Regions from separate parts of the Homo sapiens genome. Here regions 2, 3 and 4 are each linked to region 1. The links are contacts of gene promoters, found by promoter capture Hi-C in blood cells and fetal thymus (Javierre and others, 2016). All regions are on one chromosome and are shown on one strand. Each heading gives the region's core, a stretch centred on a gene start or on the middle of the fragment in contact. The rest is flanking DNA. Distances are from core to core; before and after follow the strand shown. Region 1 holds the start of GAD1 (glutamate decarboxylase 1). Region 2 overlaps DLX2-DT (DLX2 divergent transcript). Region 3 overlaps DLX1 (distal-less homeobox 1). Region 4 overlaps METAP1D (methionyl aminopeptidase type 1D, mitochondrial).

Region 1 (7,088 bases), core at 1,350-3,849:
GTCTGGTGGGTTGGCCCATAGCTATTGGCGGAAGCAAACGAAACAGAGGCATGGGGACCAGAAGGACGGGCGCTGTCCTTCGTGCTGAAAGATCTATGCCCTACCTCAAAACTCAGTAATCTGGATGGAGTGGAATTCCAGGCCTTCAATTCATTACCATTCCTGCTGTGCCCAAGAGTTCGAGTTGGAGGAGATCATTGAAAATTAAATCAAATTTATGAAGTTTCTAAGTGCGCTCCTCTCCCTGCCTCACCGGAATGTCCACTCCCGGCGTGCAGGATAATATAAACCGCAGGGACAATGCAAGCTCCAAAAAATAAGTGCTTGGCACATAGTAGGGGATTAATAAATATTCGTTTAATCAATTACTGCTAATATTCAATTAAACATTCTAAACAAGGACGGACAAAAGTCTTCATTCCTCCCCTACTCACCATAAAGGAGAAAGAGAGGGATGTCCTCGAAGCTGGACGGACTCAGCTTCAGCTTGCGTTACCTAGCCTTGCAGGAGATTCCTTCTCCAACGAGATTATTTCATTGGCTAAAACGTTAGGGGTGTTTTGAACTCTGGGGTCAAAGGAGGAAGTGGTTGGAAATGTCTCAATCTCGTGCCACAGGTGAAGTAAACGAATCTTCCTTTCCAGGGAATCACGGGTTTTGGGAAAAGGTTGAGGCGAGCGGGCGTCTATGCTGGACAATGAAGAACGAGGGGCACCGGGAGATGTGTTGCCTCCTCCTTCCTGTCTCCTGCCCCGTGCGTCTTGAATGATTTAGCACTGGCACCTGGCTCCCTGATTGGTGCGAGCGTCTCGTTTAGGGAAGGCTCTAGGAGGGCCGGTGGATGGAATTCCGAGCTTCACCTGGTTGTATGCCGCCCACTTCAAGCAGCGCAGAGCAGCTGCCGGTTGAGTGGTTTGGGGGGACGTTTCCTACGTGGAGCAGACACCCCCAGCCTGTCCAGCCCCAAGCCTCAGTGCCCGGGGCTGCAGTCACCGCGCGCCCCGCCGTTTAGGATGTTTTTTGTGTCCTTAAAAAGTGCCGGGGATTTCATCGTCAGGTGGAGACAAGGCGACAAAACAGTAGTTTCTTTAGTACCAAAGGCAACGCGATTATTTCAAACCCCACAGCGAGATCCCTCTTGCTGATCAGGCCATGTCTGCCCAGGGCGGACCCTTCGATCTCCCTTATGGAACTCTCGGTAATTTATAATATTTTTGTGTGTGTTTCCATTGTGTTGTGGTGAAAGGCGATAAGGCATTCAAAGAAAACGGACGGGCCTCCGCTGAACCAGTGAGGCCCCAGACGTGCGCATAAATAACCCCTGCGTGCTGCACCACCTGGGGAGAGGGGGAGGACCACGGTAAATACCAGTAAAGGAATCACTGCCTACACGGTGTCACCCAGACACGCACAGACATCAACATTTTTGCCCTAAAGAAAAAAACTGGGGGAGAAGAAAGGGGAGAACTTAAACTAGTGACAGGGCGGTGAGGGAAGGCATGAAGAGGCAAGCCGGCGCGTAACCGTCTGGCCAGCAGCTCCAGGTGTGGGCTCCGCTCGGGCGCTGGCGGAGAGACCCGGGAGCGCAGGGCCTCTCCGTCTCTGGGCTCTTGGCGCCCTCTGGTGGGAATTTCTCTTTCAACGCATTTTTACGGCGAGGGGCTTCTCCCAACGCAGCGGTTCTTTTAACTACGCCTAAATATTGCAAAGGGAGAATCCTTAAAGCGCGTGAAATCGAAGGGGGAGCGGGCCAGGGCAAGGGGGGCTGGTCCGCCCCTTCCGGGCACCTCTGTGCTCGGGTGCCCCATGCGCGTGCAGCGGCGCTCGTGCGTGTCATCAACCTTCAAACGTGATTAATCAGGAGGCCTTCTTTTCCCATCACCAAGGGGGCCAAAGCGAGGAGCGAGCGCATAGCAAAAGGGACGCGGGGTCCTTTTCTCTGCCGGTGGCACTGGGTAGCTGTGGCCAGGTGTGGTACTTTGATGGGGCCCAGGGCTGGATGAGGAAACTGTAATTCCTCCATGGTCTAAGAGGTCTCCCCTCATTTCTGCCTCCTTTGCGGTTACAACAATCCCAGCTCCGTAGAGAGCCAACGAGGACACGACCCAAAGCGCGCTTTCGCTCAAGGAAGCGTCGCAGGGTCACAGATCTGGGGGAACCCCGGGGAAAAGCACTGAGGCAAAACCGCCGCTCGTCTCCTACAATATATGGGAGGGGGAGGGGAAATGGGAGAGGGGAAAGGAGGGGAGGGAAGAAGAAACGCTCAGAAAGGCAGAATTCTTCGTAGGAATTATCTTTTCCCTCCTCTCACCCGACAGCCTGCCTATTTCCAAAGGAAAAAAAAAAAGCGTGTTGAGTACGTTCTGGATTACTCATAAGACCTTTTTTTTTTCCTTCCGGGCGCAAAACCGTGAGCTGGATTTATAATCGCCCTATAAAGCTCCAGAGGCGGTCAGGCACCTGCAGAGGAGCCCCGCCGCTCCGCCGACTAGCTGCCCCCGCGAGCAACGGCCTCGTGATTTCCCCGCCGATCCGGTCCCCGCCTCCCCACTCTGCCCCCGCCTACCCCGGAGCCGTGCAGCCGCCTCTCCGAATCTCTCTCTTCTCCTGGCGCTCGCGTGCGAGAGGGAACTAGCGAGAACGAGGAAGCAGCTGGAGGTGACGCCGGGCAGATTACGCCTGTCAGGGCCGAGCCGAGCGGATCGCTGGGCGCTGTGCAGAGGAAAGGCGGGAGTGCCCGGCTCGCTGTCGCAGAGCCGAGGTGGGTAAGCTAGCGACCACCTGGACTTCCCAGCGCCCAACCGTGGCTTTTCAGCCAGGTCCTCTCCTCCCGCGGCTTCTCAACCAACCCCATCCCAGCGCCGGCCACCCAACCTCCCGAAATGAGTGCTTCCTGCCCGCCCTAGTCCCTGCTCTCCACGGGTGCGCTGCGCAGGGACCCCCCCCCCCCCGCCTCCCTCGTCACTCTTCTTATCCCTGCCCTCCGGATTCACGCCCCGGGGAAGCACGGAGGCTGAGGCTCTAGTTGAAGTGGGGCAAGAGCGATTTTCCCTTGAGCTTCCATGCTGCGAGCGCCTGTCCCTCCAAAGGGCGCCTGGGCAGCAGCAGCCGAAGGCGCTACTAGGAACGGTAACCTGTTACTTTTCCAGGGGCCGTAGTCGACCCGCTGCCCGAGTTGCTGTGCGACTGCGCGCGCGGGGCTAGGAGTGAGGTCGGAGGGAGGGTGTGGAGGCGATGGCCGGTGGGCCCTTCTCTGTGGGGTCCTCGATCTACCCAGATTAGCCCGCAATCTCTCTGTCCCGGGGCCTTCGGGCGCCATCGCGCCAGCGCCGAGAGTCGAGCAGGGGCGCCGCGCAAGATCTTTGTCCGCCGCCTCCTGCGCGCTGCGCGCAAGTTCGTTTCCCCGGTGACGTTCCCCATGCTTACTTACCCCACCCTCTCTGGATCTGTACCGCGAGAAATCTGGGGTCCTCAGGGGGCTAGGTAGAGGAGAAACGCTGAAACCGGACCGAAACCTCGCCCTAGGCTTAGCGATGGCTAAAAACCGGCTGGGATAAGAGGGAGGCAAGCAACATTCCGACTCGCTGCTTTCTGGCTGTCTGGAGTGCAAGGTGACTGTGGTTCTTCTCTGGCCAAGTCCGAGGGAGAACGTAAAGATATGGGCCTTTTTCCCCCTCTCACCTTGTCTCACCAAAGTCCCTAGTCCCCGGAGCAGTTAGCCTCTTTCTTTCCAGGGAATTAGCCAGACACAACAACGGGAACCAGACACCGAACCAGACATGCCCGCCCCGTGCGCCCTCCCCCCGCTGGCCCACACGCCGGCTGCTGAGTGCCCAATGGGGCTTGTAGCGGCTCGGCTGGAAAATCGCTCACTGAGCGCTCCCCTGTGCTCCTAGCCTAGTCCCCCACACCCTTGCGTCTTGTACTGGCCTTGGACCCCCACCCCGACCCCGACCCCGCCTCGTCTCGGCGCTTCACTCCAGGTCGCGCCGATGCACCGCCAGACTCGAGAGCGGCCCAGGGCTACGCTCCCTGCGCCCCAGTACCGGAGCTAGCGCGCACGTCTCCTCCGCTGCCCCCACCCCTGCGCACCCCTACCAGGCAGGCTCGCTGCCTTTCCTCCCTCTTGTCTCTCCAGAGCCGGATCTTCAAGGGGAGCCTCCGTGCCCCCGGCTGCTCAGTCCCTCCGGTGTGCAGGACCCCGGAAGTCCTCCCCGCACAGCTCTCGCTTCTCTTTGCAGCCTGTTTCTGCGCCGGACCAGTCGAGGACTCTGGACAGTAGAGGCCCCGGGACGACCGAGCTGATGGCGTCTTCGACCCCATCTTCGTCCGCAACCTCCTCGAACGCGGGAGCGGACCCCAATACCACTAACCTGCGCCCCACAAGTAGGTCCCGCCCCAATTTTCTATCAAATGAACTGCAGGGAAGATGGGGGCGCTGGGACGTCGGGAGGCTGAGCTGGCGGAAAGGGAAGGGGGAGCGCGGAGATAATGGAGGCTGGGAAATAAATGGGGCTCTGACCCCGTCCCTGCCAGAGGTCATTCGGCTGTCAGGGACGCTAGGTGACTCCCAGGGCACCGGAAAGCGAGGACCACGCAAGGTCCGAGCAGCGGCGATCGTTGAGGGCTTCGCGGAGGAGGAGGGGCGCGCAGCCAGGGTGTTGTTTTTATTCTGTTGTGTGTGGTTTCTTTGCTCCGTGGGACGACAGGGGTCAGCGCAGGGGGCGGAATGAAGAGCTAGGAGCCCCAGCAGGAATAAGAGTTTTCAGTCCCCGGCTTTCGTTGAGCCAAGATCTGACCTCCTCCTTTCCCCCTGGGCTGTGTTCAAAGTCTATAATCAGCGGAAATTTCGACGTTAATTGCAGCTTTTAGAAAACTCAAGGTCCCTAATTGCTCCAAATTTGCATCAAGCTATTGACGAGTTAGGGAGAAGTCAGGGGCGGGAAAGGTGCATAAAACTGAGACTGAGCCTTGACATTTCATACAATTAATTACATCTCAGAGAAATAAATAAATAAATAAATAAATAGGGGAGCGGGCGGCATCCTGAGTGGCAAGAGATGGGGAACTGGGAGGGGGCAAGAAGCTTTATCATAGAGAGGAGAGAGCACCTCTCTCCTTATCCCAGGCAAGAGATCTGTCAGGAGGTGACATGTCCCGAAAAGAGAGAAAGAAAAGAGACACCAGATAAAAGAGGGGGGAGGATTTATGCTTCCCTGTCTTAAGTGCGACAGGCTCCTCAACCCATTTCCAGAATCTATCTTTAATTTTATTTCCTACCTCTGTAAAGGCTTGAGATGAGAAAATTGTTTTTCTTTTTCCTTGTTGGAGTGAAGAAGTGTCTCCTGACCCCACCCCCCTAAAAAAACTTATCAGCTTCAGACTGTAAGTGTTCCCACTCCCCCATTTATTTATTTCTGAGATGTAATTAATTGTATGAATTTCCAGAATTTGTATACAGAAAGGGCTTAAGAAGGATAGTGTGGTTACAGGGAGTGCTTATTGATGCGCTTTTATGGCACTTTATATTTGAGAAAATAAGTATCCTCATCAATGAAGTGGGGATTATTACCGGAAAGCCCCTTTAGACGCTGGCATTGGCTCCCGGGCAGGAGGTCTCGTGTTAAGTCCTCAGGTCTCATTCCAATTTCCTTTGCAGCTCCCTCTTCCCGCCACCCAGGAGGGATACAATTACCCACACAACAAAGAGGGCCTCGGGAGAGTCGCCAGCCCTGGTAGCATATGAACCAGGCACCGGCGTTGGAGCTGGCCAGGGCAGGGCGGGAGGAACGCGAGGCCTGCGCGCCTTTGTGTGGTGCTTTCGCCTTGATGGATTTCTTTTCTGACGCTTTCCACATTTCCCGCTCCCTTTTGCCGCCTGGGGGTGGGGGTGGGGGGTTAGCGGGCAGTTGTGTTAATTTGCCCTCCACTCCCGGCGCCCTTACGGAATTCCCGGTGGCCGCCAGTCGCCGGCGCAAATGCCAAGTCACCGGTAGGAGACACAACAGAGGCGATGACCTGAATCCGCACGTGGCCTGGTTCGCCTGGAAGCTGCCAAAGCGAAGGCAAGAGAGCCCGGGACCCTGCTGTAAAACAGCAAGCAGCACGTGTCCCAGGCACACTGTTGCGGGCCCTTAGCCTAGCTACGCATCCGCACCCCAGGCTTCAAAGGCGCGCTGGGCGCTCTATCCACTCTCACCCTCCCTTGCAGACAATACCTTTGCCCGCCCAGCTGGCTCCACTTCTTTGCCCCTTTAGAGTCTCCTGGGAGGTGGCGTTAGTGCAGGCAACCTAAGGCACTCTCTTGTTCCAGAAACCCTTGGGTGGGGCTTGGAGCCCTCCTTGTCCCCAACCACTAGGTCTTCCCGACCCTTGCTACATCAAAGGGGCTCTCTCGCTTGCTCTCCCCGTCTCCCTTTCCCTTTCTTTCATTGCAACCCCCAATTTTGAAAGGCAGTGCAATGTGTCTGAACTCCAACTTCCCTGTTGATTGACCTTGGAAAACTCATGTAACCTCTCTGAGCCTCGATGTTTTTTCTTTGTCAAATGACTCTTAGATCAACACTCCTGCCAGTTTCATAGGACTGTTACGAGAATTAGATGAGATGATGTTGAAAGTGAAAGCACTTTATCAGGTCCAAATAGCTCTTTATCCGCCAGGTATTATTAGGGTTTCGCTTTTGCACTGATTTCCTGTCTGTCACTGGAACTCCATCTGTGACATGTCTTACCGACGTCAGGCTGTTTCTTCTCCCCGCTGGGGCTCTGTTGTGCCTCAGGTTTAATGGATGTCACTCTCCTTATCGCCTCCAACACCTGTGCGAAGCTGGAGGCACCAGTCAGGGTAGGGTAAGCGAGTGCTTGGAGAGGTTTGCTTTGAGAGATTGGAAGGGGATTTCGTGCTGGGCTCACCACACCACTCCGCTTGGGGGCTTAGTGGGGATGGGGCTGCTTCCCACGCTTCTTGCTGGAAGTTGAACCCCGAAGGCAGCAGGTAGACCTTGAGGGGTTTGAGAACAGCCTGGAAAAGAAGGAAAATCCAGCAGCACCTCCACCCTCAGTTGTGACTCAGAGGAAAGGTGCTTGAT
Region 2 (7,088 bases), core at 2,732-5,231, 1.3 Mb after region 1:
CACACTTACTTCTCCCGGGCCTGGTGCTGCCAGCTCCGCGGAACAGATTGGAAGGGGCATTGGCCGTCCTGAGGGCGACCGCGCCCCTCTCTCCCCAAAGAGAGTCCTGGAAGGGGGGTTCCCCTGGGAGAGGAGGAGGCCCGCCCGGCTGCGCAGAGGGTAGCCCCGGGAAGATTCCTGAACAGACTCGAGCCTCTGCGGAGAGGGCGGGATGCGGGTGCCCCCTGGCTTGGCACGTGAAGCCAAGCTTGAGGACCTGATGTTTTGTTCCCGCTGGGATTCCGCCCCAAGTTATCTTTGCTCCCTGCTGGGGTGTAAGTAAACCCCAGGGGCTTGAACCGAAATCATCGGTTACTCGACGCTTCCAGCCGTGGCCTTTCCGCGGCGCTGGGCTTCTGGTGCTATCAGACCCAATTTCGCCTTTTGCCTTCCAGATCTAACAGACTCTAGTCAGGTCCATTTCACTTTATTGTCTGTTCAATGGTTAAAGCAAAGAGAGTGAGAGCTGGGGCCCTTGACCCAGGAGGGCGCCCTGTATGGGGCGAGGGGTCGCCCAGGCTCTGAGGCACACTGATCCGGTGGCCTAACTGTGGATCCCAGCGCACAGGCCCCATAGGCAGGCCACAGGTGGGTGAGCTTCCAAGGGCGAGAGAAACCCATTCCCCTTAGATGGTGAAAAGCTGCCACATTTTAGTGTCCAGGTCCTGAGAGCTGCAAATGCTGATGGAGTAAATTACTCCCTCTTCCTTTCCCCACCGCCCCTGCCCCCTCCAGGAACAAAAGCTCAGACCGCTGAGATGTTCACTCTGCACTTTCAGCAGCACTCACATTGAGATATGAGAAGACTGCAACAAGGTTTGTTCTTACGAAAGAAAACAATCTCAGAGAACACATGGACACAAGGAGGGGAACGGCACACACTGGGGCCTGTCAGGGGGCGGGGGTGGGGAGCAGGGTAGGGAAAAACAGCTAATGTATGCTGGGCTTAACACCTAGGTGATAGGTTGATAGGTGCAGCAAACCACCTTGGCACACCTTTACCTATGTAACAAACTTGCGCATCCTGCACATGTACCCCGGAACTTAAAATTTTTAAAAAAAGTAAAAAAAAAAAAATTTCCGAGGTTTCCCGCCCCTGAACTGAGGACCATTTGTGCCCGGCGTTCCGGGGGGACCGGGAGGGGGCTGTGCTTGGGGGGCGGCGGGGCGGGGGACTGGAAGCGAGGGGGTAAGTGTAGCAGGGAGGGGAACGTCGCCGGGGGGTCTTGGACCTCGGGTCTTCCGCGTGTCCGGTGTTGATTGGCTCCAGTTGTCAGGTTGAAACCACAACTCCTCCCCTAAGAGCTGCAGAGGTGAGCCCACGACGTGCCGGCCCTAGGTGTTCTCATCGTTGGGTTGTCAGTGCAGCATGCTTCTGGAACTTTCAGAGCCTCACAGGCCTTAGACCCTTTTCACTTTAGTGTCTATTCAGCGGTTAAAGCAAAACACACACACACACACACACACACACAGACACACACACACACACACCACCGCCACCACCATCACCACAACCAACAAACGGGAGAACTAGGAAGGAAAACTCTGGAACTTAGAAACTACCCTTGGACACAAAATTCCCTTCTCTTTCACAGAGTCTTTCTTTCCACTCTCTCATTTTAGAACAAAAGGGTTGTGCCACCTCCTTTGGATGTGAAGAGGATGTGCTGACACGTGTGCTCGGGAGCCAGACTTTGTGGCCTTGGGGAAAGGACTGAATATTTCTGTGCTTCGTCGTTTGCATCTGTGGAATGCAGGTGATACTGAGCTCTTCCTTGTGGGATTATTGCCTGGAAATACACCATTATAGGTTCATCGCCGCCAGGTTTACCGCGACACTCGGCGTTCTCGGGCCTCAGCGGAATGGGTTTTAAACCGCGGAGGGAGGCCCAGGCGGAGAGGGTGTAGGCCCACTTTTCTCACTCGTGTCTAAGCAGGCCTTGTCCTGGCGGCAGCCAAGGTGAAGGCAGACGCTGTTTCCGGGATCCAGTGGACCAGGCCAGGCCAGGGGATTTGGGCGTGGGCCTCCGAGGCGGCAGTGGGTGGTCCAGGGGCATTGTGAAGCCGTCAGGCACTGTGGATGGGGAAGTGCAGGGCCCGCCTGCAGCACTGAAGTTTGGAAAGGCCAAATACTGCTCCTAACCCGTGCGGCAAGGACTGCCCCATTCAGTAAGCGGGGCAAAGTCCCGCCTTGACAAGCCTCTCTGTAGTTTCCCTGTGTGCTACACCTGGGCTGCTTCTGCTCGCTTCTTTGAAAATGGAGAGGGGAGCAGAGGGAAGAACCTTGCAGGTTATTCACAGGGAACTGACCCTAGGCAGTCATGTCAGATTGTTTGCATGTACTTGTGCACGCGTTTTCAAATGCATAAAACCCTGTGCATGTTTCAAATGTGTAAACACGTAAGCATTTTTATTTGTATTTCTATTTCTTTTATTTATTTATTTATTTATTTATTTATTTATTTTCTTTTGAGACGGAGTTTCCCTCTTGTTGCCCAGGCTGGAGTGCAGTGGTGCATCTTGGCTCACTGCGACCTCTGCCTTCCAGGTTCAAGTGATTCCCCTGCCTCAGCCTCCCGAGTAGCTGGAATTGCAGGCGCGTGCCACCATGCCCAGCTAATTTTTGTAGTTTTAGTAGAGATAGGGTTTCACCACGTTGGCCAGGCTGGTCTCCAACTCCTGACCTCAAGTGATCCGCCCGCCTCGGCCTCCCAAAGTGCTGGGATTATAGGTGTGAGCCACTGCGACTGGCTAGCATTTTTATTTTTTAGAAATCTTGGCCGGGCGCGGTGGCTCACGCCTGTAATCCCAGCACTTTGGGAGGCCGAGGCGGGCGGATCACGAGGTCAGGAGATCGAGACCATCCTGGCTAACACGGTGAAACCCCGTCTCTACTAAAAATACAAAAAATTAGCCGGGCGAGGTGGCGGGCGCCTGTAGTCCCAGCTACTCGGGAGGCTGAGGCAGGAGAATGGCGTGAACCCCAGGGGGCGGAGCCTGCAGTGAGCCGAGATTGCGCCACTGCACTCCAGCCTGGGCGACAGCGAGACTCCGTCTCAAAAAAAAAAAAAAAAGAAATCTTTTCTTTCTATGTCAGTCGTTACAGAGCAATCATTTTCTTCTTAAGGTGAATGTGTGAGGAAGGTATCATCATTTATTTGACTATCTTCTTTGCCTTGTCATCTAGATGATTTCCGATATTTACAAACAACACATGAGTGAATGTCTTCTGGAGAGCTTTGCCCACATGTTCAATTATATTTGTAAACTAGAATCCTAGTAACTGAATTGTATGTCAACATTTTAATAGCTACCACTAAGCTCCCCTTAAAAAACAAGCAATTTAAGCTCTATACTCATTTCTGAGCACTCTCACCAAGAATATTAGGAATCTTCAGTGTTTTTTGAATATGATAGGCTTAAAATAGTGCCATATTTTAACTTGCAAAGGCTTTACATTAGTAGAGTGTGTGTCTTTTTTATTTTATTTTATTTTAGAGAGGGATGCTCTGCTATATTTTGTCCAGGCTGATCTTGAACTCCTGGGCTCAAGTGATCCTCCTGCCTCAGCCTCCAGAGTAGTTGGGACTACAGGCATGTGCCATCGCATGCTTGGCTTGTGTTTTTATATAGGCATTTTATTTTCTTCTGTGAATTGCCTATTTTTGTTCTCTGCCCATTTTTCTGTTTTTAAAAAATTGATTTACAGGAAATTATTACATATTTTGGAGATTAACTCATTATTGTGTTTATAGTCAATATTAATTCCAAGTTAATTGCTTCTCTTTTACTTTTGTTTATTCTCTTTTCTAGTTCAGAGATTTTAAGTTTTGTATGGTCAAATATGTGACTCTTTTTTTTTTATGGCTTCTGGGCCTTCAGGTCATGATTATAGATGCCAATACTTTTTTTTTTTTTTGAGACGGAGTCTCGCTCTGTCACCCAGGCTGGAGTGCAGTGGCGCGATCTCGGTTCACTGCAACCTCCGCCTCCTGGGTTCATGCCATTCTCCTGCCTCAGCCTCCCAAGTAGCTGGGACTACACGTGCCCGCCATCACACCCGGCTAATTTTTTGTATTTTTAGTAGAGACAGGGTTTTACCATGTTAGCCAGGATGGTCTCAATCTCCTGACCTCGTGATCTGCCCGCCTCGGCCTCCCAAAGTGCTGGGATTACAGGCGTGAGCCACCGCGCCCGGCCTATAGATGCCAATACTTTTAGATGTTAATACTTTTAGAGTTAATATATACAGTGGTTAAAAGTATGGGCTCTGGGCTTAAATCCTAACTTGGCTACTTGCTAACTGTGTAAATTAGGGAAAGTTATTTAACTTTTCTGTGCCTCTGTTTAATGTTTAATTGAACAAAACTTCACTTAGACTACTGAAGGATAGTTGTGGAATGGACCAAGTGTTGTCTCTCAAATCTGATTTTTGGGGAATGCAGCTAAACTACTCCCTAGCCCCCTTTGCACTTATGTGTAACCATGTCATTCAATCCAAGAGAATGGAACATAAGTGGAAGCCATGTGTGCCTCTCCCAGGACAGGACCTTTTAGGCAGAGTTGAGACTCCTCTCTGCTCTCTTTTTCCTTCCGCTGTCTGGAACCAGCTTCAACTATGAAGATGACATGGCCCTAGAGTCTCCTAGAGGCCCTAGGGGACTCACCGCCTAGGGGAATCTTCATCACTTGTTTGGAAGGTTATCTGACCAAGAAATAAACTTACATTTTAAGATACTGACTTTTGGGATTATATATATACACACACACATATATATACACACATATATATATGTACACACACATATATATATCTATACACAAACATATATATATGGCAGCTTATCTACTATAGCTAATACCATGACCTTGAAGTTAGGATGCAATGACTTTGTTAGGAAAAAATTACAGGAAAAAGTCCAGAACATCCTTTATCTGTGAAAACCAGATGAATGGGAAGCCAAGCACAGACCTGAAACCATTTGATTCCTAGGTGCATTCAGTCCATGAATAGAAAGAGGTTAGCATAGCTGGTTGTTATCCTTAGGAACATAAGTCTTTAATGATCATTAGTGGGGTTCTTTCACTTCTAAGCCCAAATCATATGCGTTTCCTTTTAAAGGTGATGGATTGCAGAAATTTTGTCACTGTGCCACATGGGACCCTCCCCTCCATGTCAGTGTCACTCTTGCCTTGGGCACATGCTTATTATGCTTAGGAGTTGTCATGGGGTGATAAGCCAACTTACTACTTTAGTCTTTTTTGGACGACAGTGCCTAGGATAATGGAATGAACAAGGCAAAGGCAGCACAAAGAGAAGAGGTGCTAATAATGAAATAACTTCAAATAGGAAAAAGAAAATTAAAAAAAAAAGGAAACTTCCCACTAAAAGGGCCCAAATGGCTTTCATTTGAGGAAAGTACGCAAACTTAAGTGAATGAACTTTGGGATGTCATTTTGGGCCATTTCAAGACATTGTTTTTGCCTATTTCCCAGTCCTCAGTTGTGTACTCCTTGCTGGTGTTACTACATAGCTAAGTTCTGAATTGATGATATGCTTTGGTTTCATTTAGAACTGAGCACAATTTATCACCACATTCCAGAAAAGATTGAATACTAAGGAGCCACACCAAGTCTTGTGTAAGACAGTGATGACACCCAGTGGTCATTTAGGGTCTTCATCTACATCGACCCAATTCATAGTAAAGCTAACAAATTGCACATATTAGTATACGAAAAGTGCTGTGTGTGTGACAGCCTGTGGGGGAAGGGGCAGCTAGACTTTACAGCTCTGACTGTTGTATCCTTGTAGTTTCATCTTGGGCATTTCTTTTTTTCTTTTTTCCTTTTTTTTTCTTTTTTTGAGACAGAGTCTTGCTCTGTCGCCCAGGCTGGAGTGCAGTGGCGTGATCTCAGCTCATTGCAAACTCCATCTCCCAGGTTCAAGTGATTCTCCTACCTCAGCCTCCCCAGTAGAGTAGCTGGGACTATAGTCCTGCACCACCACACCTGGCTAAATTTTTTATTTTTAGTACAGATGGGGTTTCGCCATGTTGGCCAGGCTGGCCTTGAACTCCTGATCTCAAGTGATCTGCCCACCTTGGCTTCCCAAAGTGCTCGGATTACAGGCGTGAGCCACCGCACCTGGCCTTGGACATTTCTTTTTTCTTTTCTTTCTTTTTTTTTTGTTTTTTTGAGATGGGGTCTTGCTCTGTTGCCCAGGCTAGAGTGCGGTGGTGTGATTTTGGATGACTGACTGCAACCTCTGCCTCCCAGTTTCAAGCAATTCTCCTGCCTCAGCCCCCTGAGTAGCTGGGATTACAGGAGAGCACCACCATGCCTGGCTAGTTTTTGTATTTTTAGTAGAGACAGGGTTTCTCCGTGTTGGCCAGGCTGGTCTAGAACTCCTGACCTCAGGTGATCCTCCCACTTCAGCCTCCCAAAGTGCTGGGAATACAGGCGTGAGCCACCGTGCCAGGCTGGGCATTTCTTACTATGCAATTACCTTCCCTGGTTGAACTCAGTAAAGGATTTCACTCTTATCTCTATTATACTTTTGATACTCTGTCATAATCCAAAGAATAGCTGCTGGAATCCTGAGATGTTTAAACAAGGTTTTACTTAAGTCTTGGGATAACAAAAGGGAAATAAACATCAAAAGTAACCTGGACCCAGATGGCCGAATACTGTAAACTCTGTTGGTATGAACCATGTATTTATTGTATGAAATAACCCCATCACATAGTGAGTGACTGAAGTGAAAAAATGACATATAAAAGACTTAAAGGGTAAATGAGAGTTAGCTAGGTAAATAGTTGAGAGAAAGGCATTATAGAAAGAAGAAATAGTATGTGCAAAGTTCTGAGTCTGAAAGGGACATTTGAAAACCTGGAAGAAGGTGAGCTGGGCCAGACCACAGTGGATGAGGAGAGTATGTACGGTGGGGCTGGCAAGGTAGGCAGGAAATATATCGTGTAGGACCTAATAGATTTTTGGCCCAAGAACAATGGAAAATTCAAAAGTTTAGAAAAATTTGGCCAGTCGCGGTG
Region 3 (7,088 bases), core at 1,265-3,764, 1.3 Mb after region 1:
CCGCCCGTCTCCTTCTTGTCTCCCCGGCCCAGGTCCCTCCCGCCTCCAGGTCCATCCATCCCGTCCGGAAAAGAAGGACCCAGAGGGAAGAAGGAACAGTGGAGGCGGGACGCCCTCCATCTCCTCGGAGCCCCGCGAGGTCCGGCCCAGCAACTTCCCGGCATCCGCGCTCTAGCCTGAACCCTGGCCTGGGCCGAGCAGTGGCAGCAGAGAGTGGCCTCGGAGGGAAGCCACTGCCACCTGAGACAGCCCAAGCAGCAAGATAAACCCGCTCCACCCGACCCGCCGACCTTCAGCTTTGTGGGACTATCAGGAAAAAACAAAACAAAAACAAAATGTAGAAAAAGCAAAAGCTCTTTTCTGTCCTGTCAGTCTCCTGTCTCCTTTTGCTCTGTCTGTGCGCTGGTAAAGTCCAGGTCCTCATCCGTCCGCTGTCCTCATTCTGCGGCCTCAGCAAAAAGCCACAAGGTCTGAGCGGCCCGGGTCCTGCCGGGCTGACCATCTCCGGATCCTGGGACACTCTGCCTGACCATCTGTGTAGCTGGTGTGGGAATCTGGGGGCATTGGAGGGAGGGGGTTTTATTTATTGAGAAATGGACTTCGCCTGAGGCTGTTTGCCAATTCAGGGTTCTGCTGGGCGCAAGGAACGCACTGTTCAAACGCACTGTTTACTTTAAGCGCACGGGGAGAAACGAATAAGGAGGACGTGGTGATTTTTAATTTATACAGTAACTTTTGTACTTCTCTGGTATGGAGAGTTTGGAGCCGAATGATTTGCATTTTTTACATGTCCGACATTATTTAATAAATAATTTTTAAAAGAAAAGAACGATAAATGAAGCCAACATGATTTTCTCATTTCGGGAGGAACTCTGTTGCTTCGCCTGGACAAGAAGGAAAATGCTGATTTCCTCCTTGGGTAGAAAGAGGGAGCGAGGGCAAATGGGGAGTAGAGAGAAAACAGGCGAGAACAAGCACTCTAATTCCAGTGGGCTTTAAAATAAGACAAAATCAGCTTTACAACAATCCCTAGAGGCTCGACCACAGAATAATGCCAGTCACCACCCTGAACGCACAATCTCCAGTGCAGGATCTAATGACTGTACATATTATTGTTATTATTATTATTGTTATTATTGTTGTTCTGTAAACATGTTGCACAAGCTTAGCCTTTTTGCGTTCTGTTGTGTGTGGCTGTAAAACCCCATGCTTTGTGAAATGAGAATCTTGACATTTTTCTTGTGAAATTTGGAAAATGTGATCAATTGAAATCAACTGTGTTTTGTGTTCTCTATGTCAAAGTTTAGTTTTATATTGAGAATGTTAACTTATTGCTTTGTATCTTGGGAAAAAAACTTTGTAAATAAGTTATAAAGTTTCTTTGAGACAGTAAAATTATGATTTCTTGAAAGAACTGCTCTCTTGTGCTGTGTGAGGCTGTGCCAGGGGGCCAGGCCAGGTTCCCGCCTCTGGAGACAGTTCATACAGGGTCAGCGACTTATCAACTTATCGGTGATAGAATGGAGACCCTGTACCCCAGAAACACCAGGGTATCGTCAGAGGCCTGTGAGGTGCCCCATTGGGCTTTTTCTTCCTGCCTTGCTCCATTGACCCCCAAGGTGTCTGATTCCTACCTGAATTGGAAGGGTAAGGAGAGAATGCCTGGCGAGGGTTCCCCAGGAAGGGGGCTCAGGAACAGGTGCATCAGGGCAGGGCTGACGCTCAGGAACCAAAAGGATGTTGAAGACCGGCTGAGAGGAGATGAAGTCAGAGTTCAAAGTCAGCCGGCCAGGACGATTTCAGTTTTTCCCACACCCAGCCAGCTCTTGAGAGGCCGGGAGGTTGGGAGGCTGAGAGGCCTGAAAGCAGAGACACTGCTTTGCCTCTAGCCTTCCTCCGGATCAGGCCTCCCTGCTTTTGCATGCCCGGAGGCGCTGGATTCCGTCGCGGAAAAGACGCAGCCAGACGCCAAGCAGGGGCCCGGAAAGACACGTCTGTCAGACTGCCCCTCTATCAATCAGTGCGCTCCAGGGGACAGGGCACAGTCCCAGGCAGCCACCCTGGGAGCTCCACAGTGAGAAAGGCAGGTTCCTGCCTAATGATCCGGGGCCTTTCTCTGCACCTCACAGAAATGGAGGTGCTAAGGAAAGGGTGGCTGACACTTTGGAACCCCAAAATCTGACCAAAGTCAAGCACACCACTCCCACCTCATCCCAGTCCGAAAGTCCCAAGGCCAGGCCCTTATGGGAGCACCTCTAGTGAAGCGCTTGCTCAGATTAGTTTCCTCCAGAGGAACACGGGCTTCAAGGGACTAGAACCAGATTGGTTCCCTTCTCGTGGCCCTGCGTCCCAGCCCAGCCCCAACCCCCACCCCAGATCTCGCAGCCGAGCCGAGGCAGTCCCGGAGAGCTGCGGGCCCAGACAGGCTGCCAAGCGCTGTTCCTACTTCTCCCGCACTCGCCTTCCAGCGCTGCTGCCCGCGGGAGCTGGCCCTCCACCTTTGGGGGGTCTTTTCAGGCGCGCGGTGGGGAGCAGAGCCCGGAAGGCAGTGATCTGTGTTGTGACAAGCACCCATTTTTCAATTGGTGCTGGTGAAAGATCAGATGCGCCAGGCTCTTCCGACGCCCTTTGGGAAGGGGAGGAGGAAGTGGTGGGGCTGCTGGGGGTGGGGGGAGGCGGTGTGATGGAAGCAGGGAAAGTAGTCGGGGGTGGGGGAATGATGCCGGGGACCTCCAAGCCCCTTCCAGGCCTGAGATTGGGACTTCTCCGCAGCACCTAGAAGAACCAGCGCTGATGGGAGAGATCAGACCTCAGAAACCAGGATGTGGGCAGTCAGATGGGCCTCAAAGCTGAGGAAAGAATGAATTTCCCAGCTCCCGCGCGGGGTAGGGGGTCTTCCTAGGTTCAATTTCCCCTAGGAGATGTGACTTTGCTAGTGCGAAGATTTCTGTCCGGCATCTGACTCAGGTCCCCCAGACGGCAGCTAGGGCCCAATGCCTCAAGCTACAGGCAAAATCTGTTTGGTCAAGCGGATTGTAATACTTTGAGATATTAGCTTATACTAATTTAATAATCTCTTGCTAACAGTTCAAATAGAGAAATTATTAGTTTTAGCTCAACGAAAACGGTCTTTAGTTAGGCTTTATTATAATTATAAGCGGTTGTACTTTTTAAAAATGTTAATCTCAATATAGGCCTAATTAATGCTGCCTTGTTACTGACAAGTAGTTCATCAAATATCTGATTCAAAGATTTTCATAATGAGTATATTAATTAAACTATGAATAATCTAAAGGTGGTTATATTTAAACAATACCTCATTATAATGATTAAATACTGATTTCGAATATTATGTCTTAACAATTGTCACTTAGAAAACACAACCTTTCCTTATGTATGAGTCTGTAATGGCAAAATGCAATTTTGGGATTTTTTTCCCTTGTTCAAAAAATGTGAAACTCATTTTAAAACACTTCTGAAATAGGTTACACACAGCTTAATGATTATCAAAATGACTCTTTTCTGCAAAAAAAGACCCCAAAGTGCGCGTACAGCTGCAAACCCAAGAGGGTCAGCATCATTTCACTGTATTCTCTTCTTGATTACAAGCCGGGCCCATCAAACACAACATAATTACAGTAATTTCAGGTTTATTTATTCTAATGCAGTTTCCCCATCTCTCTGGTAATTATGAGCAATTTTTTCGCCCAGGGAATCTTTTTGCATTAACAAAAGAGATAACGCACTGAAAGCCAAATTTGCTGTGCATTGAGAAAAGGAAAAAAAAAAATCAAATAGGTGCGAGCTGCCATCTCTGCAATTCTCTGGTACCGGAGCCGGCAAATTGCTTGCAGGTGTATGGAGCAAGCTTGTCAATGGCCAGGCCTCCAAATTAGCAAATGCACAGCAGCAAAGTAATGAAGACAGACTTAGCAAAATTGCCAAACAACAGATATCCCTTTAATATCTTCTCTCACCCACACTAGCTCTAAAAAGGGGTAGGGGTAGGGAGAGAAGCAACAGTCCCCAGCCCCCTCCTCACTGGTCTTGGCTTTCAGGAGCCTGGAGGGGCTGGGTAGCCTTGTGAGTGGTAATCTAATTGTGGGAGAACTCATATCTTAAATCGAGGCACTATTTAAAAATATAAAACTGGAAACGTTTATAGTTCACAGCTTTTCCTCTCTGATCATTATGTTTTATTTTTATTTCTTTCTTCTGGAAATCTGCACCTGGGCTGGGTTAGATATAATAGCTCTTCAGCCTTCTTGATTCTGTACGAGTTTTTAGAGCCACAAGAAGTTTTAAGATTCCCCCCACCTATATGCACAGAAGTGTGAATTTATTCATAGAGAGTCATCTGATGTAGAAACTAACTGAATCTTTCACCTTGAAGAAATTGTCAATTTCTGTCACCCCAGGAAAGGTAGGTCTGTGCGCTGGATGTGGAACCCGAGATACTAGATCAAGAAAAATTGGGAGCAAAGAAGCAACCCAGGCTTCCTGGCTTTAAATCTTTATCCTGGTATCCATCTCTTCCTTTCTGTATCTTTTATAAACTGATTTCAGAATTACCTGGTTTTTGTCATCCCACCGCCTGGATTAAACACCCTTGAAATTATAGGCTAACGCAAACTTTTCTGCTCTTCATCCCGCATGGCCATAGGAACCTCCATCAAATGCAGTACAGAAGGCGAGGGTCCTTCCCTCCCATGCCTCAAAGAAATCCTCCTCCGGTCCCCAGCTCCACAACAAACCCCTAGCTCCAGCGTAGACAGACAAACGGCTGTAAAAAGTGCCTTCCCCAGGCTCAAGAAACATGTCACCCCCACCCACCGCTTTCCTACCCCCTCCCTCATCCCCCAATCTTCGAGGATTAACACTTCCTGAAACATCAAGTGTTTTTATAAAAAGGAAAAAAATAATCCTGACATCGCTGACAAGAAGTTTTGATGGAAGAATTAGCTGGTGCATACATAATCACTCCCCCACCCTCCTACTCCCGGAGCGGGAGCCACGGCGGCGGGCGCAGCGCAGCCTTCCAACCCTCTGAAAAATGAAACCGGTTTCCACCCTTACCTTCTTCAGTGTCAATTTCAGATAATCTGGACACACACTCTTTGCTACATCAAATCAAAAGGGTCGAAGGTAGCTTTTGGCTGGGAGAATAACGGGAAAGAAAAATCAAAAAAGAAAAAAGGGAAAAAAAGGAAAAATAGAAAAATACAAAACCGACCAAACCAGAGTAAAACAAAACCAGAAAACCAAAAACAATCCCCCAGACCCATCCTCCTATCTTGAGAGTAAAGAGTGGAAAGAGGTCCCCAGGACCAGGCGCCTCAGAGCGCCGCAGGCTTTTTGCAGCGCTGCGCTTGCAGAATAGGACTGAAATTTTCGGCTATATAGCCTCTGTCTTTATAGCTGATGAAAAAAATTGCAGATTATTAGCATAAATGTTTACTCTTCATTACGCTGATGACATTGTGCACTCGAGATCTTGGTAATCTTTGGGAAAATTATGAGTAATTTTTAAAAATTTTAAAGCAGCAGCAGTTACCATGCAATTCAGGCTAATTCTGCGTAGGCTCCGAACGGATATAATTATCGAGGAGTCAAGATGTTATGCTAAAAACTATGCATTGATATTCCCATTTATTATGTACATACAACTTTGACAATGTTGATGCTTGAAATAGCAGGAAATTGTCTTGCGCAAAAATTACAGTCCATATTAGGACATCTGAAATTGCGAAGAATTATATAGTAATTGCAGGCTTTCAGATGGGAGAGCCAGAATGCTCAAACTAGTGCAAATGTGGATAAAATTACAGATCAGAGCAAAAATTAGGGAAAAAGGGGGTCTGGGATTTTTCAGGTTGGCTATAGGATTCCGGAAGTGTCTAATGCCACATGATTGCTGCAGCTTTAGGGGAGACATTCATGCCTCAAATAGAGCATTGGCCAGGGTGGCTTTAATTGAATTTCTTGGGCTTTTTCTTTTAATAGGGGCGAATGAGGAAATTGGCCACCCAAGGCAAATTTTCACTGTCCTCCCGTGAACGTGCCGAGGAGAGAATCCTTTTCCCCGCGTACCTGCTCTCCCCAGTTGAATGCCCGGGAGGCCCCGAGGGGCTCCCCACCCTAAAAGCAGCAACTGAGAAAGTGACTGAACCGGATACCCCCTCCTGCCACCTCCTCCTTTCTTTTTCTTTCCTGTTCCCCCCTCCTCCTTCCTTCGGCCCCATTCCCGGATTCTGGCAAACCCCTCCACAGTGCAGCCGGGCCGGGCCCCGGGATGGGCAGACCGGGCCCAGGGGGCGGGGGGGCGGGATGATGGGGGAGCTGGCTGACTGTGCTGTCGGTGCCAGGCGGGGAGCATCTCGGGAGATGCCCAGGGCAGTTTTGGGAAGGTGGGACGTGGAAGGTAGGAGCGGAGGGTCGGACTGTCCCGCCCCGCGACCGCCTAGGCTCTTCTTTTGTCTCTACCGCCTGGAGATAGCGTCCCCCCACCTCCCAAACATTCACTTCCCACTTGGGCGGCGCTTCTCTCGGGAACCGAGACACCCTGCGACTTTAAGAAGCCGAGGCCAGACCCGCGGAGGGAGGGGGCGGGGCGGGGGCTGCCCCCCGAGCGGGGAGCGCGGTGGCGCCCGGCGGGAGAAGCCGACTGGAGCGCGGCCACCGCTCGGAGCTGCAGTGCCTCAGTCCGGTTCTCCGGCCAGAAGTCCCCATTGTTCCGGGTGCGATGATTTCACCTCCCGGGTGTCCGAGACTCCTGGACCACAATCGGGACGGAGAAGCGGCAGCGTGGGCAGCCTGCCACGTTTGCTCCGTGCGGGCCCCAGTCTGTCCCCCGGGGTCACCCGAGCGTGCTCCAAGTCCAGTCCTTTCGCCCTCGCTTCTCCTGCCCCGAAGTTGTAATCCTCTGCCCAGCACCCCCGACCCGCCTCGTGGGCCGGTTCTGCACCTTCTCCCACTCGGCACCCGACCCTCGGCCCCCATCTCCTAGCCCGGGACCCGACTCGACTGGGGACCCTCCCCAAAAGGGCCTCTTTCGGAGCGCTGCCACGCAGCCCGCAAACTGCCGGGAC
Region 4 (7,088 bases), core at 2,024-4,523, 1.3 Mb after region 1:
TATAGGTCCATATCTTAACAAATTATATTTCTTATAAAATATTTTATTAAGTGAAGGACTCCATTATCAGATCCTATGTTTCTATCAGAAAATACTCATTGCATCTTAGAATTATTGACGTCTAGTATACATCACAAGAAATTAGATTTCCTTCCCCCCTTTAAAACTGAAAAATGTTTTTCTTAAAGACAATGCGATGTCCATAGTAGTTGCTCAATAAATATTTGTTAAATGAAGTACAAGGGCCAGGCGCAGTGGCTCATGCCTGAAATCCCAGCACTTTGGGAGGCCAAGGCAGGCGGATCACCTGAGGTCAGGAGTTCAAGACCAGCCTGGCCAACATGGTGAAATCCCATCTCTACTAAAAATACTAAAAATATAAAAATTAGCCCTGTGTGGGGGCAGGAGCCTCTAATCCCAGCTACTTAGGAGGCTGAGGCAGGGAGAATTGCTTGAACCTGAGAGGCAGAGGTTGCAGTGAGCTGAGATCGCGCCCCTGCACTCCAGCCTGGGTGACAGAGCGAGACTCTGTCTCAAAAAATAAATAAATAAATAAATGAAGTACAAGTACTAGTTTATGGGTATAAATAGAAATTGTAGATGACTGCCACAGACTTTCAAAAGTATTGTATTTCTGTATATAGTGAATCTTTTAAGTAGTCTTTTTTTTTTTCAGACGGAGTTTCCCTCTGTTGCCCAGGCTGGAGCACAATGGCAGGATCTCAGCTCACTGCAAACTCCGCCTTAAGGGTTCAAGTGATTCTCCTGCCTCAGCCTCCCCAGTAACTGAGACTACAGGCACACGCCACCACACCCAGCTAATTTTTGTATTTTAAGTAGAGGCTGGGTTTACCATGTTGGCCAGACTGGTCTTGAACTCCTGACCTCAAGTGATCCGCCCACCTCCGCCTCCCAAAGTGCTGGAATTATGGGTGTGAGCCACTGCACCAGTCTCAAATAGTCATTTTGATATTCCTTCCTTCCTTCCTTCCTTCCTTCGTTCCTCCCTTCCTCCCTCCCTTCCTCCCTTCCTTTCTTTTTCTTTTTCTTTGTTTCCTTTTCTTTTTTTACTTTTTCAGATATAGGGTCTTGCTCTGTCACTCAGGATGCAGTGCAGTGGTGCCATCATGGCTTACTGTAAGCTTGAACTCCTGGGCTCAAGTGATCCTTCTACCGTAGCCTCCCAAGTAGCTAGAACTACAGGCGTGTGCCACCACACCTGGTTAATTTTTTAATTTTGTAGAGATGGGGTTTCACTATGTTTCCCAAGCTGGTCTTAAACTCCTGGTCTCACGCAATCCTCTCATCCCAGCCTCCCAAAGGATTGCAGGCGTGAGCTACTGCACCCAGCCTCAAGTAATCATTTTCAAAGCTAGGAAAAAGTAATATGAAAAGATGAATAAAGATTTTTTAAAATAGTACATTTTTACTTAAAAAGCAGTTATATAAACATTCATTTATACATTTTCTTGACTACGCCTATATTAGCAAATTTTATATTCTTGTATTTTGAATGAAATCGTATTTTGTATTTTGAAATAGTATTCTTGTATTTTGAATGAAATATAAGAATATAAAAATTTGAATTTTTGAACGAAATCAGCATAGTCTTCCCTACTGTTTCCAATGTGTCCAAAGAGAATACTCTATTCCTTTTCTAAGTTTCCTGAAGACTTTTAATAGTTTCATTATTAACATTCAAACTATTTCAAAATTGTAAAACCTATGAAGCAAAGTGAAATACTGCCAAGTGTATAAAATAAAAACTCATACTTTCCTGGATTGCAAAGGACTGTAAGTGGGAGTAAATGTATAAAACACTATTCTGTTGCAAGGTAATTAAGATAATTTGATATAGTAGAGAAAACACTCGATTAGAAGCCAATAATCCATCATATTAACCTGAATCTACCTCTATATTCTGCCACCAACCTTAAACAAGTTACTTATCTGTGCCTCAGTTTCCTGAATTATAAACTGAAGATCTAATAAAGACCTTTCTTGCTTCCTTCACAGAATATGAGAGCATTTTTTAAGAAATGCAGAGTAGTATACAGATTTAAGACATTAATTCAGTATCACAACAGACTGAAAGCTCATATAAACATCTTTTTTATAACAGTTTCTACATTCTACCTTATGAGCAAGAGAAATGTGAAAAATAATTAGATAGGACAAATTTATGCAAAGTAGCAAATTCCATGCTACATCAAAGGATCAGTATCCAAACAGTTGCCTCTGCCTTTTATATTTACTATAGTGCTTGGTTATCAATGATTTATAATGAATCTGGTATCTTTCAAGATCCTACTTGGCTTCTGAATCACTGAAGACTGATAAAATTATACTTTCTGTAATTGTGCTTTTAAGCTTGTTTTATTATATTCTAATTCTTTAGATATCCATATATAGTGCTTTCTGTTAACGTTCGGCTGTCTGGAACATTTGATTAAGATTTCACTTCTAGACATAGGATTTTTCTGTAACACATTTCATTCCTATATGGAACCACTTCAATTCTTAGAACTGAATTCTCCTATTTGTTTGTTAGAATACAGACATGTCTATCTTACTTCTTCTTGTCATTATATATCACTTCAAATGTAGAACTGGTAAATACAAAATCAAGTAAGTCTTCATGACATTGAAGAAACTTTTCACTATGTTAAATACTTTTTGGTTCTCTAAACCTGTTGTGGTAATTGTAGATCAAGGTCTTTGGCTACTAATTTTTGCTTATATAATTTTGTCTTCTCAGAAATAAAGTGAGGAATCAAAATATTACAGTAGTATTGTTCATCATAATGCTGAAATAACCATACTAGTTAACATAGTTGTTTTTAAATTTTGCAATATCATTGCATGGCTTCATCTTTTAAATTTCTGCAAGGTTTCAATATATCTATTTCTTCTTTTTTTGATAGGCAAATGAATAATTCTGGAAGGGTAAAACATGAGTCTACTAAATACATAAATGAATACAATGTATACTTTAGGAAAGTAGATTTTTAAACAAGGACATATTTTTAAATTTCTGCTTATGTTTAGGTCTATTACAATGGCTACCATGGAGACACCTCTGAAACATTTTTGGTGGGCAATGTGGACGAATGTGGTAAAAAGTTAGTGGAGGTTGCCAGGAGGTGTAGAGATGAAGCAATTGCAGCTTGCAGAGCAGGGGCTCCCTTCTCTGTAATTGGAAACACAATCAGGTAAGCCTTACATTGACAAGTAAAGGGAGGGTTGGCAAATGGTACAAAGGTTATTGGTGGCTTGGTATAAAGTTGATGACATGTTTTATGATTCAGAACCATCATTTCAGTCTGATATCAGTATGTGAACTGCCAGGCTGCAATATTGTTCCCTGAGTTGAAAAAAAAAAAAGATTTTATAAAAATGAATTATACCAGGGTCAGCAAAGAAACTTATAGAAGGAGCAAGCAATATTTACATGGCTGCTTTTGTTTTAGCTTGACATACTGGTCTATAGTTTCCCTTTATTCAAAATCACACCAAATATGGAAGGGAGTACCTAAGAAGGGGATGAGCATCTCAACCCTGGGGTTTTTAATAAGACAGGAGAAAAACTAAATTTTATAAAGGAATGAAGTGAAATGTATTTCTGTGATATGAAGATAATAAAGTGTTAGTTCAAGCAAGCCTTACCTTTCAAATTGGTAGATTAACAAATAGCCTGAAACGGTGATCTTCTGTTCTTTTTTTGTCTGGTTCATTTTTCCTGTAAACCGTTGTTTATTTTTCACAGAGTATTCTATCCTTACTTTTTGAATGTATGTGTATGTGTGTTTTCTGAATTTAAGACTTTTCTTTATAATCTGTTACCTACTTTTAGGTCTTTTTTCCCCCATAACTGTTTTGAAGTAGACATGCCGAATATATGTTTTCATTTTAAAGTAATGCATTCTGTTAAAGATGATCACATCAGTGCCCTTTAAAGTACTGTTCTCATTAATATGAACCATTGAATACTTCCCATTTGTCTAAAGGATGGAAGGCTTAGTCACCTTGAAAAGATGCTGCCTTTTTTTCTTCGTAAGCCTTCAAATACTTTAAGAAAAAAGCCAGTAAAATATCAGTTAAATGTATTTATGGCTTTAAAAATATTGTAACAGTGTCTGAATCAAACTTTAGTAAAATCTCTTTGGGTTATATCTGAGAAGCTTTTATTGAAGACTTTGAACAAAATTGTGTTTTTGACAGTTTTAAATTATAGGCTAACTAGCCTGGGAAAAAAGGATAGTGTCTCTCTGTTCTTTCATAGGAAATGTTGAATCAGACCCCTACTGGGAAAAGAAATTTAATGCATATCTCACTATCTTACTGTCCATGAATATAATAGAAATGAATTCAAAATGCAGTTTTATTTTTGCAAATGGGATGAGTCGATAGATGCACCTCATATTTTTGAACACCTAGGGTTCAACAAATTTACTGGTGGTGCTCTTGCATTTTAACAAAATTTATTCTTCAGTAGAAGGGGGCAGAGAACACTAGATTCTTATTCAAGCATTCTATCGAGCTCTGCATTCATGGCTGTGTCTAAAGGGCATGTCAGCCTTTGATTCTCTCTGAGAGGTAATTATCCTTTTCCTGTCACGGAACAACAAATGATAGCTAACTACAGAGGCACATTTGCAGTAGTCACATTCATCAACTGCAGAAAAAAAAATTCAATTTAATTGTGCAACACAGCTGCACATGGGCTTTTGAGCATTTCTGTTGTTCTCCCTGTCTCGCTATTCCTCCCTCCAGATCTATTTTTTAAACTTTTTTTCTGGTTATTTTTTCCCCTTTTTGTCTCTTCTTCCATTTTTACTCTCTGTACTTTCTTGTTAAAGTAATTTTCCTTTGTGGCTCTCATTCTTTTTCCCCCATTGAAGGCTATGAATGTAGAAAATTATCACAATTACTCATATAATTGAGCCTCTTTGTAGCAAGTGCAACTCCAGTAGCCTTTCTCCATCATGAAAATGGTTTCATTATAGGGTTTTTCATATTCTCTGACACCATCTACACAGAGGAACAGGCGTGCAGATGAGATGTGCTAGGAACAGGCTAGATCAGTAAGGTCACAGTAGGAATAATTAGCTCTGCTATGGAAAGAGCATCTAGGCCTTTTACTGCTACATAAATGTACTGTCCATGGCTTTTAGTCACAAAAAAAACTTACTAACAAATGGAGCTCCCGCCTACTACTTTGAAAAAAAGATTTGTATCAACACTACAATTTTCCATCATTAAGACTAATAACACAGAGCCTAGTATACATCAAGGGGAATAAAAAGAAAAATCTCACATTCAAGTGGCGGCTGGGTGCTGACCTTTGTTCCCTTTTTTTGTGTACGACTTAACTCTTTACAAAAAAGAGCCACACGCCACACCAACATGCAGGTGAACTCCAGCTAGTACTAGCAAAGCATAGCATTCAGTTGGAAAATTTGATAAATCTCCATGCAGGATAATGCATTTCATTACATATTCACTACATTAATTCTAGCTACATTAAAAAAAAAAGAAGAAGAAGAAGAAGAGTAGAATTGAAAGTGACATTGGATTTTAGCTATCTGGATACAAAGGTCAGTTTTCACAGAGTATGAATTTGCATGTACAAGCTTTTTTGAAAACCAGATCAGTCAGTCCCAACAACTGCACTTAAAAAAACTATGTGGAAAATAACAGACAATGAACTTTTTACTTGTACCCTAATACATTTCATTATTTAGATGGTTTATGTCTGCCGCTAGAAAGGAAACTGGCCCCGATTCTAACAAATATTTGTTCTGATGTGTTAAAGCAGTGTTTCTGGACACCTATTATCTTGCCTTTTCTTATTCTGGCAAAATCTTAGGGGAATAAGTAAACAAACCATATTTACCTTTAAGCCAAAAGTACTTGAAATCATTACAGACCAAAGGTTTACAAACATCTTTCAACTCGGTCTTGTTTATTTTAAGATATTCACCATCTTTTGCGTAGCCTCTCTCTACTGATACACTAGGAAAAGAACAAGCAACTTGTATTAGTATCATGTTATCAAAAACCTTGAGATCTCTACAGGAAATTTTGGAATTCTCCTCTGAAACCTAAAGAAGATAATGTCTTTGAGGAAGTATCAGCTAAAATGTTTTAATGGAAAGAGTTCTCTCTGGGCCCTTTTGCTTTTGTGAGGAATGTCTAGTAATCTTTAGGTCATAGTGTTACTAGACTCACTGTATCTCCATTTGCTTTAAAATATTTCTAAATCTGTATTTTTATAATTATCTCTAGATTATACAATCTGTACATATGAGTATATTGTGAATGTGTAGATTCATGCATCATGAATATGTGACAGTTCAATCAAAAATAATTTAAACTTGTAAATGTCATGATGAAAGTATCAATAAATGGTTTTTAATGTTTAATTCATAACTATATGTTTTGATATTAATTTGGAACAATATAAAGCAGATTTTTAAAAAATAATCTCTTTCTATTAGATTACGCACATTTAAACAATAAGTGGCTCAGGCAAAATAAGTCATTTTAATGTCATCTGTGATGGATTTTTCTTGACAGCTACTGTAAATTACAATTATACTGCTTCTCTCTGCACATGAAAGTAAGCATTGCAATAAATTATCTTTTATTTCAATCCATCATGTCTGCTTTTCAGAAACAGAAAACCTCAAATAAAAGTTCAGCACTATTGTAAGAAAAATACAGTAATTTGTGATCTGGTTTGAAACAAAAAAAATCTACTACTTTTTTGGAAAACAGTTGTTGGCTTTCAAAAATATTACTAATTGTACTTAAACATTCCTTTTCATTAGAAGGAATCCCTGGATTTGTGCATTTCTTCATTCATAACTACTGCCTAAAATAAATATCTAGAAAGAGTAAAGAAAAATTTCATAACTTATGAAATAACATGCCATTTGAGATCATTTATTAGAGATGTGACTATTTGGAGATTAGTGCTGTTTATAGGATTAATGTAAAATTGGCAATAAATCTATTTTCATGTGCATTTTTATTTCTTTATAACAGCATGTACGTAAACATAGTACTCCTCTGCCCTCTTGGGG

What was found. Contacts are between HindIII fragments. The CHiCAGO score rates a contact against its expected background, and 5 or more counts as called.
Region 2: a fragment that was not itself captured here is called in contact with the fragment with the promoter of GAD1 in region 1 in 2 of 17 cell types (total B cells and naive B cells); the score reaches 11.2 in total B cells.
Region 3: a contact is called between a fragment that was not itself captured here and the fragment with the promoter of GAD1 in region 1, in 2 of 17 cell types (naive B cells and total B cells). The highest score is 34.4, in naive B cells.
Region 4: a fragment that was not itself captured here is called in contact with the fragment with the promoter of GAD1 in region 1 in 2 of 17 cell types (total B cells and naive B cells); the score reaches 8.8 in total B cells.

The regions. Positions count from the first base shown.
Region 1 is chr2:170,814,288-170,821,375 of GRCh38, forward strand. GAD1 (glutamate decarboxylase 1) reads left to right here and starts at 2,600. Exons shown (of 17, transcript NM_000817.3): 1 at 2,600-2,761; 2 at 4,242-4,386. The coding sequence starts at 4,305. GAD1-AS1 (GAD1 antisense RNA 1) reads right to left here and starts at 4,364. Exons shown (of 4, transcript NR_197761.1): 1 at 4,099-4,364; 2 at 3,431-3,628; 3 at 2,567-2,745; 4 at 336-2,198. RefSeq lists a silencer at 2,415-2,494 and enhancers at 2,582-2,751, 3,991-4,514, 4,515-5,037. The HindIII fragment of the contact is 11,655 bases long and covers 1-5,084 here.
Region 2 is chr2:172,108,128-172,115,215 of GRCh38, forward strand. DLX2-DT (DLX2 divergent transcript) reads left to right here. Exons shown (of 5, transcript NR_126376.1): 4 at 775-855; 5 at 1,663-1,855. Among named protein-coding and RNA genes, the nearest start is that of DLX2-DT, 8.7 kb to the left of the region's middle. The HindIII fragment of the contact is 7,472 bases long and covers 246-7,088 here.
Region 3 is chr2:172,088,264-172,095,351 of GRCh38, forward strand. DLX1 (distal-less homeobox 1) reads left to right here. Exons shown (of 3, transcript NM_178120.5): 3 at 1-1,411. Among named protein-coding and RNA genes, the nearest start is that of DLX1, 6.3 kb to the left of the region's middle. RefSeq lists enhancers at 1-566, 2,888-4,061. The HindIII fragment of the contact is 2,704 bases long and covers 1,163-3,866 here.
Region 4 is chr2:172,067,859-172,074,946 of GRCh38, forward strand. METAP1D (methionyl aminopeptidase type 1D, mitochondrial) reads left to right here. Exons shown (of 10, transcript NM_199227.3): 6 at 3,049-3,212. Among named protein-coding and RNA genes, the nearest start is that of DLX1, 14 kb to the right of the region's middle. RefSeq lists an enhancer at 3,933-5,663. The HindIII fragment of the contact is 1,811 bases long and covers 2,369-4,179 here.